Linked DNA regions of Homo sapiens: all the other regions are linked to region 1. Evidence: promoter capture Hi-C in human tissues and cell types (Jung and others, 2019). All regions are on one chromosome and are shown on one strand. Each heading gives the region's core, a stretch centred on a gene start or on the middle of the fragment in contact. The rest is flanking DNA. Distances are from core to core; before and after follow the strand shown. Region 1 holds the start of BCAS3 (BCAS3 microtubule associated cell migration factor). Region 2 overlaps MED13 (mediator complex subunit 13). Region 3 has its middle 10 kb from the start of MED13.

Evidence for each region. Contacts are between HindIII fragments. The study calls those that stand out against the background at their distance.
Region 2: a contact is called between a fragment that was not itself captured here and the fragment with the promoter of BCAS3 in region 1, in 1 of the 25 tissues and cell types used here (lymphoblastoid cells).
Region 3: a fragment that was not itself captured here is called in contact with the fragment with the promoter of BCAS3 in region 1 in 1 of the 25 tissues and cell types used here (heart right ventricle).

What each region holds. Positions count from the first base shown.
Region 1 is chr17:60,676,516-60,679,215 of GRCh38, forward strand. It overlaps BCAS3 (BCAS3 microtubule associated cell migration factor), which reads left to right and starts at 1,336. Exons shown (of 24, transcript NM_017679.5): 1 at 1,336-1,399. RefSeq lists a silencer at 716-1,469 and enhancers at 888-1,057, 1,228-1,377. The HindIII fragment of the contact is 19,476 bases long and covers 1-2,700 here.
Region 2 is chr17:62,050,491-62,053,302 of GRCh38, forward strand. It overlaps MED13 (mediator complex subunit 13), which reads right to left. Exons shown (of 30, transcript NM_005121.3): 3 at 2,047-2,215. Among named protein-coding and RNA genes, the nearest start is that of MED13, 13 kb to the right of the region's middle. The HindIII fragment of the contact is 4,493 bases long and covers 1-2,812 here.
Region 3 is chr17:62,073,880-62,076,621 of GRCh38, forward strand. No RefSeq gene overlaps it. Among named protein-coding and RNA genes, the nearest start is that of MED13, 10 kb to the left of the region's middle. The HindIII fragment of the contact is 7,334 bases long and covers 1-2,742 here.

The DNA of each region.
Region 1 (2,700 bases), core at 86-2,585:
TCTTGACCTCCTGACCTCAAGTGATCTGCCCCTCTCAGCCTCCCAAAGTGCTGGGATTACAGGTGTGAGCCACCGTGCCCGGCCTTTTCTTTCATTTCTTTTTTTAAAATTTTTTAAAATTTTATGTATGTATGTATGTATGTATGTATGTATGTATGTATGTATGTATCTATCTATCTATCTATCTATCTATCTATCTATCTATCTATCTGTCTTGAGAGGGACTCTCTGTCACCCAGGCTAAAGTGCTGGAGGGCAATGGCGTGATCTATAGGCTCACTGCAATCTCCGCCTCCTGGGTTCAAGCAATTCTTCCGCCTCAGCCTCCCCAGTAGCTAGGATTACAGGCATTGGCCACCACACCTGGCTATTTTTAGTAGAGACGGGGTTTCTTCATGTTGTCCAGGCTGTTCTAGAACTCCTGGCCTCAAGCGATCTTCCCGCCTAGGCTTCCCAAAATGTTGGGATTGCAGGCGTGAGCCACCACGCCCAGCCCACCACGCCTGTTAATAAGCTATACCCTCACGGACCTGTCATTGGCATTAAATTTGATAATACATTAGAGTATTGTATATGAAGTATACGAAGGCCTGTGCTGAGTGTTCAAGAAGTCAGTCAGTATTATTCTACTTATATTAATAAATGAACTGATGAAATGACAATGGCGAGATCTCGATCTTCAACAATAAGGGAGATGGAAACTGAAGCAAGAAGTGGTCTACAAACCTAGCTCAAATTGTTGAGATTACCGGCCGTGCCCCTTATTCAGATCAACCCCTCCTCGGCTGATCGCCGGCGCGAGCCAGCCTAGGCTCCCGGAAGGTAAACACATCGCCAAGGGCTGGGCAGAAGGCGGGTGTGGGACGGGTGAGTGGCCAGCTAAAAGTGATTGGCAGCTGCCATGTCCACGTGCTCCGAGCTTGGAACCAGCTGTCGCGAGAATTCGATGTAAACAGACCAGTCTCCCTGTCCTCCGGCTCCAACCTGAAACGCTCACGTGAGCGGGACAGGAGTCTGGATCATGTTGCTTTTCTTTTCAAAGCCACGAAGGTTCTGTCTTCCAAAAAAAATGTACATGTTCGTAATTATTCCCCAGCTGCCTGCGTTTGCAACCGAACCTGACACCTCGGCTTCACCCGAACTTACATGCTGTTGTGTTTTCCCTCCAGCCCCAGCGGATTGGACACATTCAGAAGGCGGGTCCGCCTCTTTCCTACTTGCTGGTTGGCGAAGCTGACCTCCAAGGGCGGTGCCCGGCCATAGCCGGTTTGCTTCTGGGATTGGCTAGAGGGGGTGGTTCCGCTGAGGCGTGGTAGGAAGTGGCTGCCGTCAATCACTCGGGGAGACTCCAAACAGTGAGCCTAGAGCTGGAGACTAGCGTTAACCGGCGGGGCGGCCGGTGAGAGGGCTGGCAGGGCTTTGGCTTTGGGGAGGCTTGGGGAGGACGAGGGACTGGCGGCGTGAGGGGACTGGGTCGGGCTGGCAGGAATTCGACAGGAGAGAGGTGTCGATACTGGAGGGGGAGGGGAACAGTGCAAGGGGCCGGAGGGCGGCCGGGGGCAGCGGTGGCTCCGTGTTGGAGGTTAAGTGGGCAGCGCCGTACGAGTGTCTTTCAGGAGACTGGGGCCTGAGTGGCTGGCGAGGGTCGTCCCCAGGAGACAGGGCCCTTAAAGGGCAGGGCTTGGGAGACTGTGGTTCGAGAAAGCAAGAATGGGATGAGAATGAGAGGGCTGAGGGGCTGGAGGTGCAGGTATCCTCTGAGGAGGTGGTGGCTCTGCTCCTTGGGGCAGAGGGTGTTTTGGTTGTAGGAGGTGGGGCGCACAGGTTTAGAGTTTTCACATCAGGTGTGAATGCTCCCTACTTAAAAATGGTTTTCGGTGCCTTCAAGATGAGTTCCAGGTTGTGGGCTTCCCTGAGCCCTGTAAGAGATCTTTGATATTGCTGTCAGTCCTCTTTTAACCTTAACCAAGCCGACTCCATGCTCTTAAAATCTCAGTGATTCAGAGGGTCATGAAACATTCTAGGATCAGGATTTACTGATGTGACGGGAAAGGGTAAAGGGCTGTAACAACGTATTAGTTTATGTTAGTTATTTGACTACTTGCTACTAGTCAAATAATTACTTGACTTATTTGTTATAGTAGCAGGGGGTTACGAATGTGATTTAAATTGTGATTTACTCATAGATTCCCAACAGGTTTAATTGGAAGGTAGAGTGATATCATGTCACTTGTTCCGTTTGGTCTTGAAATATTGTACCATGTGTATTTTCACTATCTCAACATAAAATTGCAGTAAATTCCCATCCCATGATCTGGTTCTCTCACCCTTGTAATTTATGTTAACAACAGACCAAGGGGTACAGCAGGAGTCTTCCTTACATTGTTTTGTGGTTCTGAGACCTGGTCCTATTAAAAAACAAAACAGGATGGGCGCGGTGGCTCAAGCCTATAATCCCAGCACTTTGGGAGGCTAAGGCGGATGGATTGCTTGAGCTCAGGAGTTCGAGACCAGCCTTGGCAACATGGTGAAACCCCGTCGCTACAAAAAAATATAAAATTTAGCTCGGCATGGTGGCGCTCGCCTGTAATCCCAGCTACTCAGGAGGCTGAGGCAGGAGAATTGCTTGAGCCTGGGAGGCGGAGATTGCCATGAGCAGAGATCGTGCCACTGAACTCCAGCCTGGGCGACAGAGCGAGA
Region 2 (2,812 bases), core at 188-2,687, 1.4 Mb after region 1:
GTTGTGACCAAAAAAAAAAAAAGTCCACTAGATTAATCCTAAATGATAACTCAAGAATAAGCATGTTATGTCTTTCAAAATTTTTAAACAGGTAACTTAAAAGAAACAGAAGAATTAAAAAGGGCTGCTTCTGAGGAGCAAATCTATTCATTGGGGCTCAGGATTGCAGCCTTTCATTTTAAATCTTGGTAATCTGTTTGACTTCTTAAAACTACATAAATCTATATGCCTGGCTGGGAGCAGTGGCTCACGCCTGTAATCCCAGCACTTTAGGAGGCCGAGGCGGGTGGATTGCCTGAGCTCAGGAGTTCAAGACAAGCCTGGGCAACATGGCAAAACCCCGTTTCTACTAAAAATACACAAAATTAGCCAGGTGTGGTGGCACACGCCTATAATCCCAGCTACTTGGGAGACTGAGGCAGGAGAATCACTTGAACCTGGGAAGCAGAGGTTGCAGTGAGCTGAGATTGCACCACTGCACTCCAGCCTGGGCAACAGAGTGAGACTTTGTCTCAAAATAAATAAATAAATGTATATGGCAGATATTGTTAACTGCCTACCCAATATCCATTTCCACTTCTTTGATCTTTGGTATCTATCTAATATCTATCAGCCCTTTCTTCTTACTAACAAAAACTTCATTTGTTCAGAGCAGCTGTTTCCAAATAAAAGATATTTGTTTCTCTTAGTATGGCCAAAGATATGTCAACTAAAGTTTCCAGAAAATAATTTACTTTCTGACTCAGGTGCCACACCTTCCTTACTTCCTCCCTTCCTTTCTCTTCCTGCCTGGAATCCACTGTGAGGTCTGGAGGTGCAACACACGGGAGGACCATGAAGATGTAAAAATGGCACAGAGAAAACTCTGGGGAACTTTGAATCCTTGATGACATTATTGAACAGCTATACCAGTACTAAACTATCGACCTCCATACTGCTTGCTACTGAGAAAAATCAATCCCTACATAAGCCAAGTAGTTAATGTTGTTCTGTCATTTCCAGCTGAATGCATTCTGAACTTACACAAGTATTTTGTTAACAATAAAGGTTTACGTTAATTTTCAAAGAGGAAAAAAAATGAAAGCACCTTTATTTATCCAGGCTTATCTACTCATCCAGTCTTACTAAAACTAAAAAGTTTGAAAAAACAAACAAACAAAAACTCCAGGTGCACATGAAAAAAGATGTGCATATATGACATCAAAGACCTCAAAATGATTACAATCTCAACCAAATGTTCACTTCACATCCTCTCACATCTTTCAGGAAAAATTAGTAAGTTCCCTTTAGTTTTCTCTTCCCCACATCCCAACTTACTTGCCACTGGTTCATCTCTCTTGAAGTCTCACTAACTCAATGACTGCTGGGAACTTAAATCTTTTGAGAGACTATGCCTTATATTATCTAAATCACGGAGAAGCGAGTAACCTGAAGGTTTTAATTGCATAGGAGAAGGAGGTATCTATCATAAGTCTTCTGTGCCTCTATCTGCAACTAGTCTAATAAGTAGTGTCATAAATTTGCTTAATTCATTGCTCAAGAAAATTATAAGCTCTCAAAGAGTAAATGGTCTTATATAGAAAACACAAATTTAAATTACTTTAATTAAAGGGAATTGAGAGATTGGGAATAAGAAGGGTTAACTTGATCCAAAACATACTCACAGATCACTATCCTTAACAGGTGTTGTTACTTAATTTTAATATCAGAGTGCTGTGCATATATTTCCACAAATACTAAAAAAAAGATACTTCCAAGCCTAAGTCTCTGCTTTCATCCCACATTAAGTCTATCATCACAAATCAAAATTTAGGCCACTGTATTAAAATACAGCCTATTCCTACAGTAAGAAAATGCTTAAAGTGTATAAAGGGAAGTTTGTAAAGTGGTTTAAAAAAAAAAAAAACCTGACTGTATCTAGTACTCTGTCACTGACAACCTCTGGAATATGTCTGTATATTAGCTTGTTTTATCCCACATTCTCTGTTAAGACACAAAAAGGAACAAATCTAAAGAAATATCACGTCAGAATTTAAGATAGCTTACCTTTTATTTATAGGTTTTTCATCTTTTTCATAAGGCTTTACAAACCACTTGCCAATACGTACAAAATTCCTGTTCATTAAACACCGTTCCAATAGATTGTGAACTGCTTTGAAAAGCAGAGTACGGCATTCATAGGAAAGTCCATTCTCCCACACTCCATCTTCTTCTTCTAAAAGAGAAATGAAGGAAATAATAAAATAGTGACACTATAATCTATTCAGAGCCAAGTAAAAAAGGTTACAGTTTAAACTCTATATTCATCAACACTAGCTTACCCCAGAATATTAAGCTACAATCACTTCAATGTATCTCTAGACATTATCAGGTTTCAAAGTTACTCCACAAGGAATAAAAGGTCTAAGTGCCACATATTCTATTAAATTACCTGAAAAGTATTTTTCCACCTTATAAAATTCAATGACATCATGAACATACTGAATTGGTTCCTGTATTAATGAAAAGGACACTTGTTTGTATAACCTGGAAAATATTAAACACACTCTACACCTATGATGCCAATTTCTAAGCTGGCTCACTTGTTACTTTGTCCTAATTCCCCTAGTCATTCAACCTGCCAAAAAAACTAGCCAGTTAATAATTAAAGTCAAAACATTTCATGTCCATCAGCATTCTAATCCACGACTCCACTACAACACTAAGTGATGAATAAAAAGGAAGCTGTTGGCACAGAGCCTAACAAGCGGTGCACTATCAGCCACCTTAGGTCTCATTTCAAACAAATTATTCCCATGATTATTATTCAGTA
Region 3 (2,742 bases), core at 148-2,647, 1.4 Mb after region 1:
TGAATTGCAAAAAAAAAAAAAAAAATTAACCAGGTGTAGTGTCGCACACTTGTAATCCCAGCTACTCGGGAGGCTGAGGCATGAGAATCGCTGGAACCCGGGAGGTGGAGGCTGCAGTGAGCCGAGATTGCACCACAGTACTTCAGCCTGGGTGACAGAGCAAGACTCCATCTCTAAATAAATAAATAAATAGTAACATAAACAAAAGTACTAGAGTTATATAACATTTCTACCACTGGTTTTGACATTACTTCATTCATTCATTTAATAATATTTATGTTTACTATGTGCAAGGTTCTATGCTAGGTACTGTGATGATTGAGCAATATGAAACAATGCATCAGAAATAGAGCTGACTCTCAAGAAGATTTTTAATTCTCAGATGATAAGATATGAAATAAATAACTACAATTTTTATTTGAAAATGCGAAAAATTGATATAGATCAAATGTTGTGGAATTGAAAGAAGAGGGGGCTACCCCAAGTCACAAGGAAGAAAAGGTTAGTGGAGAAAAACTTTGCATTTTAAATAGATACGAATTAATGAATAAGATTGGAACTTGCAGAGATGTGGAAAAGAGCAATTTAGGCTAGTGTTTCCCAAACTGGAGTTTGAGGACAAGGTTTTGAAGAATGCTACTGGGAATTCCATGTAAAAGAGTTCTTGGCTGTGCTGTTAATTTGCCTCTGTTCTTTTTTTTTTTTTGAAACAGAGTCCTGCTCTGTCGCCCAGGCTGGAGTTCAGTGGTGTGATCTTGGCTCACTGCAACCTCTGCCTCCTGGGTTCAAGCGATTCTCATGCCTCAGCCTCCCAAGTAGCTGGGATTGCAGGTGCCCACCACCGTGCCCGGCTAATTTTTGAATGTTTGTATTTTTAGTAGAGACAAGGTTTCACCGTGTTGCCTAGGCTGGTCTTCAACTCCTGACCTCAAGTGATCTGCCTGCCCCAGCCCCTCAAAGTGCTGGGATTACAGGTGTCAGCCACCATGACTGACCTTTTTTTTTTTTGAGATAGGGTCTCATTCTGTCACCCACACTAGAGTGCAGTCTGGAGTACCGTGGTGCAAACATGGCTCACTGCAGCCTCGACCTCCTGGGTTCAAGCAATCCTCCTACCTCAGCCTCCTGAATAGCTGGGACCACAGGCGTGCACCACCATGCCCACTTAATTTTTTAAATTTTTTGTATAGACAAGGTCTCACCATGTTGTCCAGGCTTACTGTAGCTAGAGGCTGCTCCTTGGAAATGACATTTCTCAGGCTCCCTTATCAATTTCCTTGTGGTTTGGTTTGGCCAATGGAGGCAAGGGTGGCAAATGAGGGGCCATGAGGAAGCTAGGATTTTCCCTCTCCCTGTGCCTCAGTATTGGCTGTATCTTTATGGCGCGAACTGCAAATGAACAGTTCTTCTCTCCACAGTCCCAACTCTGTTGGGCAGTCCTGGCTCCTGGGGTATAGTATGTTTGTTATCTATTGCCATATAATACATTATCTCTGAACATCACAGCTTAAAACAACAAGCATTTTATCTCACACAGTTCCTGAGATTTAGTAACCTGTCAGTGACTCAGCTGGTGGTTCTGGCTCAGGGTTTCTCATGAGGTTTCAGTCAAGATGTGGGCTGGGGCTGCAGGCCTCTCAAGGCTAACGTAGGACTGAGGCACTCACTTCCAAGCTCACTCACACGGTTGTGGCCAGGACACAGTTTCCTTCTGCCAGGTGGGCTTCTCCTCAGAGCTGCACACAACAACGCAGCTTGCTTCTCCACTAGGAAGAAGAAGGGGGAGACAGAGAGAGTCCAAGACCAAGATGGAAGCTGCAGTCTTTTTGTAACCTAATCTCAGAAGTTATATACCATCACTTCTGCCACATGCTATTGGTCACAGACCAACTGTGATACAGAGTGTGCAGGGGCTACACTAGGCTGTGAATACCAGGAGGCAAAAATAACTGAGAGCTGGCCGGGCGCGCTGGCTCATGCCTGTAATCCCAGCACTTTGGGAGGCCAAGGAGGGTGGATCATTTGAGGTCAGGAGTTCAAGACCAGCCTGGCTGACATGGTGAAACCCCATCTCTACTAAAAATACAAAAATGGTGAAACCCCATCTCTCCTAAAAATACAAAAATTAGCTGGGCAGTGGTGGTGCACGCCTATAATCCCAGCTATCAGGAGACTGAGGCAGGGGAATCACTTGAGCCTGGGAGGCAGAGGTTGTGGTGAGCTGAGATCACACCACTGCACTCCAGTCTGGGTGGGTGACAGAGTGAGACCCTGTCTCAAAAAAAAAAAATAATAATAATAATAATAGGGAGCTATTTTGGAGGGTAGCTACCACAGTCCACCATCTGTCCCCAATGATTTGTTGCTCCCACATGCAAGTTACACTCACTTCTTCCCAAAGTCACCAAAAGTCTCCCCTCTTTACAGCATCAGCTTGAAGTCCAGGTGCAGATGAGGCTCCTCGGGTAAAACTCCTTAAGCAGAGCTCCTTGAGTACAGTTCCTCTCCACCTGTGACACCGAAGAGACAATTTATCTTCCCCTCTATATACCCAACATACAACGATGAGACAGGTGTAGCAGGATAGAGGCTTAGTTATTCCTTTTCAAAAAGGGGGGGAAATGGCAGGTGCCAAGGAGTAACTGGCCCATTTTAATTCTGAAATACCACCCCACCACCCATGTAGGTCTGTGAATCTTACTGGGGTTCACTTCATTAGACAAAAGTTATACCCACAAATCT